Linked DNA regions of Homo sapiens: regions 2, 3 and 4 are each linked to region 1. Evidence: promoter capture Hi-C in 16 types of primary human blood cells and fetal thymus (Javierre and others, 2016). All regions are on one chromosome and are shown on one strand. The core of a region is centred on a gene start or on the middle of the fragment in contact, and the rest is flanking DNA. Distances in the headings are between cores, read along the strand shown.

The links. Contacts are between HindIII fragments. The CHiCAGO score rates a contact against its expected background, and 5 or more counts as called.
Region 2: a contact is called between a fragment that was not itself captured here and the fragment with the promoter of GTPBP8 in region 1, in 2 of 17 cell types (M0 macrophages and monocytes). The highest score is 6.0, in M0 macrophages.
Region 3: a contact is called between a fragment that was not itself captured here and the fragment with the promoter of GTPBP8 in region 1, in 3 of 17 cell types (M1 macrophages, monocytes and megakaryocytes). The highest score is 7.0, in M1 macrophages.
Region 4: a contact is called between a fragment that was not itself captured here and the fragment with the promoter of GTPBP8 in region 1, in 1 of 17 cell types (M1 macrophages). The highest score is 5.4, in M1 macrophages.

What each region holds. Positions count from the first base shown.
Region 1 is chr3:112,989,366-112,992,543 of GRCh38, forward strand. GTPBP8 (GTP binding protein 8) reads left to right here and starts at 1,619. Exons shown (of 6, transcript NM_014170.4): 1 at 1,619-1,970. The coding sequence starts at 1,635. RefSeq lists enhancers at 1,161-1,788, 1,667-1,876. The HindIII fragment of the contact is 1,807 bases long and covers 1-1,726 here.
Region 2 is chr3:112,708,635-112,712,101 of GRCh38, forward strand. No RefSeq gene overlaps it. Among named protein-coding and RNA genes, the nearest start is that of MIR9900, 27 kb to the right of the region's middle. The HindIII fragment of the contact is 498 bases long and covers 1,111-1,608 here.
Region 3 is chr3:112,624,183-112,627,233 of GRCh38, forward strand. The region is part of intron 3 of CCDC80 (coiled-coil domain containing 80); the gene reads right to left. Among named protein-coding and RNA genes, the nearest start is that of CCDC80, 15 kb to the right of the region's middle. The HindIII fragment of the contact is 4,682 bases long and covers 1-3,051 here.
Region 4 is chr3:112,598,913-112,601,944 of GRCh38, forward strand. CCDC80 (coiled-coil domain containing 80) reads right to left here. Exons shown (of 8, transcript NM_199511.3): 8 at 1-3,032. Among named protein-coding and RNA genes, the nearest start is that of SLC35A5, 38 kb to the left of the region's middle. The HindIII fragment of the contact is 3,746 bases long and covers 1-3,032 here.

The DNA of each region.
Region 1 (3,178 bases), core at 369-2,868:
CAAAATGATTTAGAATTCAGAAACATGAATGATTATTAAATGAATACTATAATGTCTATTAATCCCGGAACACCTCTAAAACCTTTCTAAGAATCGCCAAAACTCTTTTATGCTCTTATTTCCAAACCTGGGGTTCCAAGGTTTGAAAACAAAATGGCATGTATAAAAGCACTTTCAAAGTATATTACATACACAGCGTCAGGCCTCTGAGCCCAAGCTAAGCCATCATATCCCCAGTGACCTGCACGTATACATCCAGAAGGCCTGAAGATCCACAGAAGGGAAAACAGCTTAACTGATGACATTCCACCATTGTGATTTGTTTCTGCCCTATCCTAACTGATCAATGTTCTTTATAATCTCCCCCACCCTTAAGAAGTTTCTTTGTAATTCTCCCCACCCTTGAGAATGTACTTTGTGAGATCTACCCTCTGCCCCTAAAACATTGCTCTTAACTCCACCGCCTGTCCCAAAACCTATAAGAACTAATGATAATCCCACCACCTTTGCTGACTCTCTTTTGGGACTCAGCCCACCTGCACCCAGGTGAAATAAACAGCCTTGTTGCTCACACAAAGACTGTTTGGTGATCTCTTCACATGGATGAGTGAAACACACACTAATGAGAATCCCAAATTTCTGATGTATACAACAGAGTATTATACACACTTTTATACATGGAGGAGAGAGAATAGCGAACAGAAAGGCACCCCAAACCCTAATGCAAAGAGCAATAAAAAATTAGCCAGCCAGCAGCACATCAGGCTGCCGTATTGGCTGCCCTCAAAGTCGCAGGTTCTGTTCATTAATTTTTGTATCATATTTATTCAAGAATTGTACTGTTTAATTACTGAACAACCTGGGGAATAGCTCAAGAAACCATGAGTTACCCTTTCTGGGCTGCTGATGTTTTAGAAAACCTAGTTTTTTTAACATATGAATATTTTTCAGTTATTCATTTCATCATTATGATACCTGTATCTCCCATTTCAGTACTGATCGACTTTAGGGAGAAACTTTTGAAATAAGATGATATTACGAAACGTCCACGAAACAATTCTGTAACATCTGTGCAAAACTGTTTTTATAAGAAATCTCTAAAATTTAATGACATTTCCTGCACCTATAGTGAAGGCGGAAATACAAACAGTCCCTTCCACGAAAACGAGGTGCTATTACAATCACATTTCTCATCAGCCCTTTTCTTTTTTGCAAAAGTGTTTATCCTAGTGCTGCGGACTTACGACAAACGTCAACAGTTAATAAGATAACCAAAAACTGTGAAAATCAAACGTTCCTGGAATGCATCGGAGCTTCACACTTTAGTCCTTCGCTTGAGACTCAAAGGCCACATGGCCAGATAGGTCTTTCACCTCTGCAAACCGTTAAACATCCTTCCAGTAAGACATAATCGTTAAGCCCACGGTGTTAAAGAAACCCAGTGAGCTGTTCCCCGCAGGTCACCGCCTGCCTCCACCCTCCTCCCGCGCACTGAAGGCAAAACACTTAGACCGGAACGAGCGAGGCCAGAGGAGACAACAACTCCCAGCAGGCGTCGCGGCAGCGGGAAGTCACGCACGCGCAACCCAGGCCACAGGAGTAAAATCTCTCTGCCCGTCTTCTGGGAAGGGAGAATGGCGGCGCCCGGGCTGCGGCTGGGAGCGGGAAGACTCTTTGAAATGCCTGCGGTGCTAGAGCGACTGAGCCGCTATAATAGCACGTCCCAAGCTTTTGCTGAGGTGCTGCGGCTGCCGAAGCAGCAGCTGAGGAAGCTGCTGTACCCGCTGCAGGAAGTAGAGCGGTTCCTCGCCCCCTACGGGAGGCAAGACCTTCACCTGCGTATCTTTGACCCAAGCCCGGAGGACATAGCCAGGGCGGACAACATCTTCACGGCCACTGAACGGAACCGCATCGACTACGTCAGCTCCGCCGTCCGTATCGACCACGCCCCGGACCTTCCGCGGCCAGAGGTGAGAGGCGATTCTCACGGTTCACCTGCGCGCCGGCGTCACAGCGCTAACCGCTTCCCTGGCCGTCCGGCTCGCGGGTGATTTTGCGGTTGTATTTTCTAGCTTTATGTTGGCGCATATATTATTTTAACTCAATAGGCATATGTCGATGCTCCCTGTACGTGGGGATACCCGAGAAACCCATTGTTAAGTACAAAATGCAGTCAATACCCATAAACCCATGGTAAAGTCAAAAATCGTTAAGTCGACCCACTGTAAGCAGAGACTGCCTGTATACAGCTTAAATTATTTTGGAATGAATATAGAAGACTTCAAAATGCTTTAAAAGCTTTTCAAACCCAAATTAAGCATTCAAAAAATTAACTCTCCTTTTTTCTTCTATTTAACTTAAGTAGGGAAAACATGCCAGACAAATTAGACAGAATTTAGACAGTGAAGAATAGGAAACGAATAATAGTTTCACAAATGAGATGGTCCTTATCAATAAGTAACTTTCGCCTAATCTAAATTTCCTATCGTGCAAAAATAATAATCTCTAGATGGCAATAATGTGGAAAAATTTTTATAACAACGTTTATTAGTGAAATTTCATGAGTGAGCATTCTTGCATGTCCTACAATTTATTGATATTCTGTTCTAAGTCTGCTAAAAGGCATCTCAACTCTCCATATGTATTTACACTAAGTGCACCATTGCCCAGAGATATTTCGTCTAAATATATGTGGAACTATAGTCAGGATTCAAAGAGTACCTCAATTATTTAATGATTTTGAGACAGCCATTGCTTTTTTATTTAAGCTTCTAAATTACTGGACTTTTTTGTAATTCGTTTTTAAAATTCAGTTTTATCTACATATTAGCATTAGATTTGCTCTGGCAGAGCATTTAAAATTTTTGCAGGACTCAGATCAATTAATTTTGAAGAACTGACCAGAATTTTCCAGGATAGGATCCCTGGCCCCTGCCCACTAAATGTCCCCCAATTGTCTTGATAACCAAAAATGCCCTTAAAATCTCCAAAATGTCCCTCAAGGGGCAGTACGGCCGTCATTTAGAACAACTGATTGGCATTGTACCCCCTCCCCCAATACCATGTTCAAAAGCAGAGCCATGTGTATTAATGGTTATTATCGAGAATATTCTGTTGTTTTCCACACTACAGAGGAGACAAGCTTAATTGGAACAAGAGAGGTCAAGGGAAAAGAGTA
Region 2 (3,467 bases), core at 110-2,609, 280 kb before region 1:
AAATTTCCCTCTTAACGCTGTCTTAGCTGTGTCCCAGAGATTCTGGGTATGTTGTAGCTTTGTTTTCATTAGTTTTAAAGAACTTATTTATTTCTGTCTTAATTTTAGTATTTACCCAAAAGTCATTCTGGAGCAGGTTGTTTAATTTCCATGTAATCATATGGTTTTCAGCAATTTTCTTAGACTTGAATTCTATTTTTTTGCACTGTGGTCTGAGAGAGTGGTTAGTATGATTTTAGTTCCTTTGTATTTTCTAAGGATTGTTTTATGTCCAATTGTGTGGCCAATTTTTGAGTACGTACCAGGTGCAGATGAGAAGAATATATAATCTGTTGTTTTGGGGTGGCGTGTTCTGCAGAGGTATATCAGATCCATTTGGTCCAGTGTTGAGTTCAGGTCCTGAATACCTTTGTTAATTTTCAGCCTCAATGATCTAATACCACCAGTGGGGTTGTAAAGTCTCCTGCTACTATTGTTTGAAAGTTTAAGTCTCTTTGTAGGTCTCTAAGAACTTGTTTTATGAATCTGAGTGCTCCTGTATTGGGTGCATATATATTTAAGATGGTTAAGTCTTCTTGTTGAAGTGAACCCTTTACCATTATGCAATGCCCTTCTTTGTCTTTTTTGATCTTTGTTGGTTTAAAGTCTGTTTTGTCTGGAGGTAGGATTGCAACCCCTGCTTTTTTTGTGTTTTCTATTTGCCTGGTAGATTATTCTCCATCCCTTTATTTTGAGCCTGTGGGTGTCACTGCATGTGAAATAAGTCTCTGAAGACAGCATACCATAGGGTCTTGCTCCTTTATGCAGTTTGCAAGTCTGTGCCTTTTCATTGGGAGCATTTAGCCCATTTACATTCATCGTTAGTATTGATACATATAGATTTGATCCTGTCACCTGTTGTTAGCTGTTTTTATGCCAACTTGTCTGTGTGGTTGCTTTATAATGTCACTGCCCTGTGTATTTAGGTGTGTGTTTTGTAGTGGCTAGTAATGGTCTTTTCTTTCTATATTTATTGCTGCTTTCAAGAGCTCTTGTAAGGCAGGTCTGGTGGTAATAAATTCTCTCAGCATTTGCTTGTCTAAAAGGATCTTATTTCTCCTTCATTTAGGAAGCTTAGTTTGGCTGGATATGACATTCTTGGTTGGAATTTCTTTTCTTTAAGAATGTTGAATATGGGCCCCCAATATATTCTGGCTTGTAGAGTTTCTGCTGAGAGGTCCACTGTTAGTCTGATGGACTTCCCTTTGTAGGTGACCTGTCCTTTCTCTCCAGGTGCCTTTAACATTTTTTCTTTCATTTTGACCTTGAAAATCTGATGATTATGTGTCTTGGGCATCATGATCTTGTCAAGTATTTTGTGGGGGTTCTCCATATTCCTGGAATTTGAATGTTTGCCTCTCTAGTTGGGTTGGGGAAGTTGTCATGAGTGATATCCTTAAATATGCTTTCCAAGTTGCTTCCATTCTCCCCATCTCTTTCAGAGATGCCTATGAGTCATATATTTGGTCTCTTTACATAATCCTATATTTCTCAGAAGTTTTGTTTGTTCCTTTTTTTCTCCTTTCCTTACTATTGTCTAACTATCTTATTTCAAAAAGCCATTTTTCAAGCTTGAGATTCTTTCCTCAGCTTGGTCTCTTCTACTGTTAATATTTGTGACTGCATTATGAAATTCTTGTAGAGTGTTTTTCAGCTCTATCAGGTTGGTTACATTATTTTCTATACTGGCTATCTTGTCTTTCAGCTCCTGTATCATTTTACTGTGATTCTCAGCTTCCTTAAATTGGGTTTCAATATTCTCCTGAATATCAATGATCTTCATTACTATCGACATTCTGAATTTTATTTCTGTCATTTCAGTCATTTCAGCCCAGTTAAGAACCCTTGCTGGAGACCTAGTACAGTTCAGGTTGGGGAGGGGCTATGCTACTGAGATCTAGTGGGTAGAGACCAGAAATACTTCTAAACATCTTGAAATGCACAGAATTATCTGACCCAAAATGTCAGTGCTAAGGTTGAAAATCCTGGGGTAAAAGAAATGGGGGTGTTTAAGCAAGGAAAGAAAAAATTTAAAAGGGTCCTAAATTCTATATGCAAATGTTTTCTCTTTTTTACAGCATTCTTGCTTATTTCACAGTTGTGATGGCCTCTCAAAATTCTCAAATAATAGTGTATATATATACACACACACACAAACACATATATGTATGTATATATACATAATTATTTGATACTACGTATATATTATCAAATAATTTTGGTAACAAATACTTATTTGTAACAAATAAAGTAACAAATATATTATTGTTGCATGTTATATTATTGTCATATACTATTGTTTGATTCTCTCTATTTCTATATATATATATACACACACATATATATTGTGTGTGTATACACACACACACACACATCTTTTCTGTTCCTAAAATTATTTGTTTCCTCAGGGTATTCTCATTTGTCTGTTTCTGTTTATACATGAGGTTCTACATAGTGACCTCAACCCTGACTGCACATTAGACCAGTGAATCCCAAGCTCTGGGAGTAAGGCCTAAGCATCTGTAGTTTTCTAAAGTTCCCAGGTGATTCGGAAACACAGCTAGCGTCTACATGAACAAGTATCAGAAGCTTAAGTGGTTTTCTTTCGTACAAATGAAGCTCTCTGCCCCACCACACTTTCTTAGGTGAATACAGATTTTGATTTTGGAACCCTTAAGAAGAGTTGCATTGGAAGAAAAAGATGGGATTGGAAAAAAAGCTGCTGCCACGAAGAACTTAGTCTTCAAAAATTAAAGAAACTATTGATGCCCTGGGTGGGTGCAGCAGAAAGACCCACAGAGGCTCATGGGATGGGTGCTAAGCCTCAGGATGGTAGGGAGAAGCATAAGAATAATAGAAATATTGGACAAAGAGCCTGATATAGAGCAGATCCAGCTTTATCAGTTCACTTTCTCTTCTCAAGGGCCACTACCTTCTGCACCTGCTTTCTATAGAACCAAGTTGCTGAGCCCTGCCAACTTAGCTCTGTATTTCCTTTGTTGGGTGGGAAGTGTTGAGTTTCTCCCTAAAAATGTCAATTTATAGTCTCCATCTATATTTGGGAATCAGTGTACACTGCCAGTCATTTTTAAGGCACATAGTCACAATTTTACACAGCATATTCAACAAAAAGCTGGAAAGTCAGTAAAATCACAAACATAGAAAAGGAAATGTAGGTGTCCTATCCTACAGAACTGGCGAGGTAGCCTATAATGTGAATTGGTTATGTCAAAGTCCTCCAAGGTCTCCATTACTTTTTCACATTAACTCAAGTCTCTGAGGTTTCTACATGGCCACACAGCATCTCTAGGTTGCAAAGCTCCTCCCTCTTCTGCTTCATCCCTGTCTTCCCACAGATAAGTGCAGACAAGTAACCACAGTCCTGATTTCTATTGGTGTTGGATGAGACCAGCTAACTTCAGAGACCC
Region 3 (3,051 bases), core at 252-2,751, 370 kb before region 1:
AACCCGCAACACAGTCTAATGTAATTTGAGAAAACACATTCATATATATTTTTTTCTAAAATTGGTTTTGCATGCATTAGGTCTTTTAAATAAAACATATTTGTAAGGCATTTAAAATATAACGATTCTTTTCAAGAAGTCAGTAGGGGCCAAAACTCTCTTGGTTGTGCTTTGCATAAGCCAGGAGGTAGATGCCAGCAGAAGCTAAATTGCTTTTATTCTCAAGAACATTGCCAGGAGTGCTGAGCAGTCCATGGCAGGTTATTTCAGTTAGGATAACCTTGGCCTCCAGCTTGGAACTTATTTCCTTTTGATTGGAAATGGATAAGTTTAAATTACTTTGCAATTGATCTGCTTACTCCCCTTTTACTCTATGAGTGGGTCATTTTCCTATCTACTACCCCACTGTGAGATGAGTGACCTGATTAAATTGATAGGTGGGACTACCCTGGCCATTCCTGATCACTTTTTCTCTAGAAAGAGCAACTTGTCTTATTAATAAAGAGTGTGTCCTGTCCAAGTGAATTGCTGTCCTACAGATTGACTCCATCAAATCTTAAAGTTATAAATATATTTGAAAAATATATTCAGAAATATTTAGTGACTTCACATGGTTTACATATAAAGTTTGAATACTTTATCTTGGTATTAGAAATCTAATTTCAGGTGCCAAACTACATTTCTAGCCCTCTCTTCACCTCTTATCCTCTACCTAGCCTTCTGCTCTAGATCAAACCTAATAGCAAATCAGAATCACCTGAGCAACATTTTAAAATATAGATTCCTGGACCTCATTCCTAAACAAATGAGTCATTATCTTGGAGTAGAAAGGGGAGGTGGGAGTCTGAATTTTTTTCCAATTTATATAGAGTACCTATGCATTGGGATGAAAAAGATGACAACGCAATAGAAAAATGGGCAAAGAACACTAAAAAGGAAATATAAATGCTCCCTAAGCATGAAAATGTGTTCAATCATACTCACAACATGAGAAATGCAAATCAATACTACCCTATACTGATACCATTTTTCACATATTACACTGGTCAAAAGCATCCAAAAGTTTGATTACACACATTAATTGGAGAGGTCTGGGGAAATAGACATATTTAAACATTGTTGTTGGAACTGCAACATGATTCAACTTGTGTGGAGAGAAATCAGGAAGTATCCACTCAGACTACATTTTCTATTTAGTCTAACAATCCTGTTTCTTAGACTGTATTGGAAAGATGCACACACAATTTCACAATTTAATCGTAACCTTGTTCATATATAGCTCTATGTATGTGTGATATATGTGTAAGAACAAAATATTGAAAATAGTCCAAGTGTCCATGGACAAAATGTTTAAACTATGAGAGAATCTCACAATTTTTTGATAAGAAATGGGGAAGATTGCTATATACTCATAAAGAAAGATCTCCTAGAAATATTTTAAGTGAAAAAAGCAAGGTGTGGAACAATATATATAATATGCTATATTTTGTATAAAAAGAAAAATATATAGGTATTTATTTGTATTTGTCTAAAAAAGTACTAAATGAATAAATAAGGAATTAACAAAAATGATTACCTGTGGGTGCAGGGAGTAGCAGGGTAAAGGGGTCAGGAAGGATACAAGACTTGTCTGTGTACACCTTTTTATATAGCTTTGACTTTGAAAATTTAAAAAAAGTATTTCTTTGAAAAATTAAACAAAAACAAAAATACCTTGATCTAGTCATTATTCTATCAAAAGAAAAAAAACCTACTCATTTTTCAAGGTCCCTCCATTAAATCAACCTACTTTTCAAAATTCTCTGATATTTTCAATACCTTATCTGATGACTACAATTGGAAGAGCCAATCCCTCCACTACATTCTTCAAACACTTGTTTTGTACATTTGACATATCAGGCACTTTTCCCCCTTGGAATGTCAGGGATTGGTCTTGACACTGATATGCTTGATGTTGGAGGCAGCAAGGGCAGTGGACTAAGAAGACTGAGTAGGTTAGGAGACAGGCTCTCTAGTCTCTAGGGCACAGAATGATTGATAAGTAAAGACTTATCAAAGCAGAGGGGGACACACAGCCACTGTGTGGAAGTCTGAGCACTCATCCTGCCTCTCCTCCCAGCTCAGTGTTGCAGGGTCTAGAGAAGGCAGCTGCCAGGCACTGTCACCACTGATGAAAGGAGAAGTTGGGGGAAAAGGGTCTATTTTTCAGGACTGCCCCAGAGGCAAAGCAGCATTTTTGAATTGTTGTGGATCCTGATGACTGAGGTTTCTCTAGAAAGAACAATTCTCTTCAACAGGATCAGACAGAAAGGGTATTTTAGACTGATTTGTATACTATCATTCTCATTTTGTTTATTTATTGATTTATTTATCTATTTATTTTGAGACAGAGTGTCACTTTGTCACCCAGGTTAGAGTGTACTGGCATAATCTTGGCTCACTGCAACCTCTGCCTCCCAGGTTCAAGAAATTCTCCTGCCTCAACCCCCCAAATAGCTGGAATTACAGGCATCTGCCACCATGCCCAGCTAATTTTTGTATTTTTAGTAGAGATGGGATTTCACCATATTGGCCAGGCTGTTCCCAAACTCCTGGCCTCAAGTGATCAGCCTACGTCGGCCTCCCAAAGTATTGGGATTACAAGCATGAGCCACTGCACCTGGCGTACCATTCTCATTTTAAAAATTGACTTATGAAGTCATTAGATAGTAAGAAATCAACATTTTCTCTCTCCTTGTTGCCATATTCCACCTCCATGAACTTTGCTACCTCTCTTGATTACCCTCAAACTCTCCTTTCTTTGAAAGAAGTTATCAAAAAACTTCCCTTGCCCTATTAAATGTCCTGTGTATTCTAGCTCTTAAAATTTGGTGATAAAATGCCAATGTTAAAATATTTTTCATCTCTAAATATTGCTAAGAAAGAAACATGCTTGCTGTGCATTTCCCCCCACTTCTTTTTTCATTCTGCAATGAAGTGCCTTTAGCCAGCAACTTTTTCCTATCTGACAAAATTTGTCTGTAATCCATTCACTAAACATACACACCCAAC
Region 4 (3,032 bases), core at 384-2,883, 390 kb before region 1:
AATGGAGTTATTTAATACCTTTCCCTATTCCCACAAAAATCTGGAACTGGGTTCTGAACTGAGAAGTCTGGGTTCCCTGAGAATTGGACATCAGTTCAACCACAGGAAGCCTCTAAATTTAGCACTCTACTCACAGAGGGCCAAGAAAAATTCACAAATGTCACAAACTTAGGAACTTAGGTATCTAGTCTTCTCTGTCATTTTGTAATGAGAAACTGAGGCCCATAGGTAAAACATCTCACCTCCAGTCACACAGGTAAGTACATGGCAGGGCAAGGACAGGCACCCAGTTTTCCCAAGTCCAGTGGCCTTTTCATGATACCCATTTCTGTGTATCATTTCATTGATTTCTGTGACAGCTGGCCCTTTGCCCCTCATCACCAAATCTTAACTCTTTGGACTTTAATAATGTGCAAAATTAAGAGGAAGTCTGGCATCGGGAGCTTTACACAACTCAGAGAGAACTGAGGAAAGTAGTTAGCATGTTAACTGTGCCTCACCTTGACCTGAAGTGAAGAGCACTCACCAAGCCACAACCTGCTATCTGCACACCCCACACCATGAGGTAAAGGACAGCCAAGGAAGAGAAAGGAAAGAAAAGCAATCCGGCAGGGAGATCAGGGAGCGAAACGAACAGAGAAACGAACAGAGGTTTTTTCCAAGGGCCTTCTATTTTTCTACAATCTCCACACATTCAGTACTGAGACACATTAAGAAGGGCCCACTGAGGCCATCATTCACCCTACTCTCGGGCTGCTTCCATCCTCCAGGCTTCTAGAAGTTGAGAAAGTATGAGCTTCATTGTTAATTATATTACAGAAAATGGGACCAGCTGGGTTGCACCCACTCCCCTGTGTCTGGACCTCCTGCCTATGTAGCAGAAAAGGATCTTTCTGCTGAATTAATATTCACCTCAGAGCCCTGGGAGATGTCTGATGAAAAGTAGTTTTTGAAGAGTCTTGTGACAACCAGCAATTTCGGCAAAGCTATGTCCTCAAGAGTCTTCCAGATTTCCCCAACTCTACAGAATGCTTTTCTTTTTAAATACCATAATCCCATAATCTTTCTCAAAAATTATAAAACTGTATTTTATTTTTCTCATTTATTTGGGAGTTTGGTAAGAAACGTTTGGGAAGAAATGCTTTTATGGAGAAACTACTCAGATTTGAAACTACCTAGTTTATACTACCAGAAGACAGAGATTCAGGTTAGCTAGTTTGCTAATCCTCACAGTTTCAGAGATATGCCTTGTATTTTTCCAGATTATAGGCTTTGAGGACATTCACCAATAGCATCCTCCTCTGAATGTATTTTGGTCCTTTTGCTAAGCTATGTCTTATTTTATAGTCCTCCAAATGATGATCTATGACTTCTCTGCCTGCTCATTAGAGGAAGAAAAGCTCAGATGCATTGCTAACTATTATTTCAATGCCAGTGGAACTGGAGAAATGCTTGAAAAAGTAATCTCAGGTTGTAAAAAAGAACTATCTTTTTTTGGTTGCAGGAGCTAGAACCCTATTATTCTGAGAGTAAATTTTCTATTATTCCTATCTAATTCATTTTCTTGGGAGATGAAACTCCCTCTTTTTTTTGGTGGGGAGACAGGGTCTCACTTTGTCACCCAGGATGATGATGATGGAGTGCTGTGGCACGATCACGGCACACTGAAGCCTCGACCTCCTAGGCTCAAGCGATTCTCTCACTTCAGCCTCCTGAATAGCTGGGACCACAGACACACACCACCTTACCCAGCTAATTTTTTGTATTTTTTTGTAGAGACAGGGTTTTGCCGTGTTGCCCAGGCTGGTCTCGAAGTCCTGGGCTCAAGCGACCCGCTCACCTTGGCCTCCCAAAGTGCTGGGATTACAGGTGTGAGCCCCTCACTGCTCCTGGCTCCCTCATTATTATATTTCCTGAAGTTGACATGATTTGGGTCCTTTACTTAGAAATTGTCATCACACAATTTCAGAAAGGTAAAGAAATCCATTTTTATTGGCAACTTTGGGCTATGCTTCATCCTGGCAAAAATTTAAAAGCAGTACACTTCGACGTGGCTCACTTTCCTGCACACCTCAGGCAGCTTGTACAGACTATCCAAGAAAAAATGAGGAGGAAAGTGCTCCATCAAGGAAGAGGGATGAGATGGGAGCATAATTCACACACTAAGAACTGAGTTCTAAAGTCACTTGAGCTTTCTGGAGCTCAGTTACCTGTAAAACAAGGAAGAATGAATGGTCTTTATGGAAAATGAATGGCAGAATAAGTGATTTGTCAAGTTCATTGAACTATAAATTCCATTTTTACTGTCATTTATTTATAACAAAGTTCAGATATAAAGAAAAATCTGAACATACAGTAGGCACAGATAAACCTATAGCAAATATTCACATGTGGTTTGAATGCATTTATTAATCTCTGTACTTATTAGAATTAATAATAATACTAAAATGATTTGGAGAATTAATGATTAATAACAGTGGAAAATAGCCTTCCCATTATTGTTAGAGGATGGTGCCATCATGATGCTAAATGCCTATCTGAGGGGAAGCTCATAAATATTACTTGACAATATTACTTGATAAATATTTGTTGAAAAAAGAAATGTAGTAAAGAAGCAAGGATGGCTGGGCATGGTGGAGCATGGCTGTGGTCCCAGCTAACTTGGGATGCTGAGGTGGGAGGATTGTTTGAGGGAAGCTGAGTTTGCAGTGAGCCAAGATTGCACTACTGCACTGCAGCCTGGGTGACAGAGTGAGACCCTCTCCAAAAAAAGAAAAAAAAAAAGAGAAAAAAAAGAAGCAGCAGCAACGAAAGGAGGGAGGAAGGGAGAAAGTTTACTTTGATATGCCATATGATTGAAACAAATGCTCTTTTTTCAAAGACAAGGATTATACTCCTTTGCATTCCAGCTACTTTGGTCCATTGTAACTTGGTAACCTTTGCCTTGAAAACAAAAAGAATCCCTGGATATAATCTCCTTCCTTGTAATTTTTTTTATAAGATGCCAGTATGGTAATAGGTCCATTAGCAAG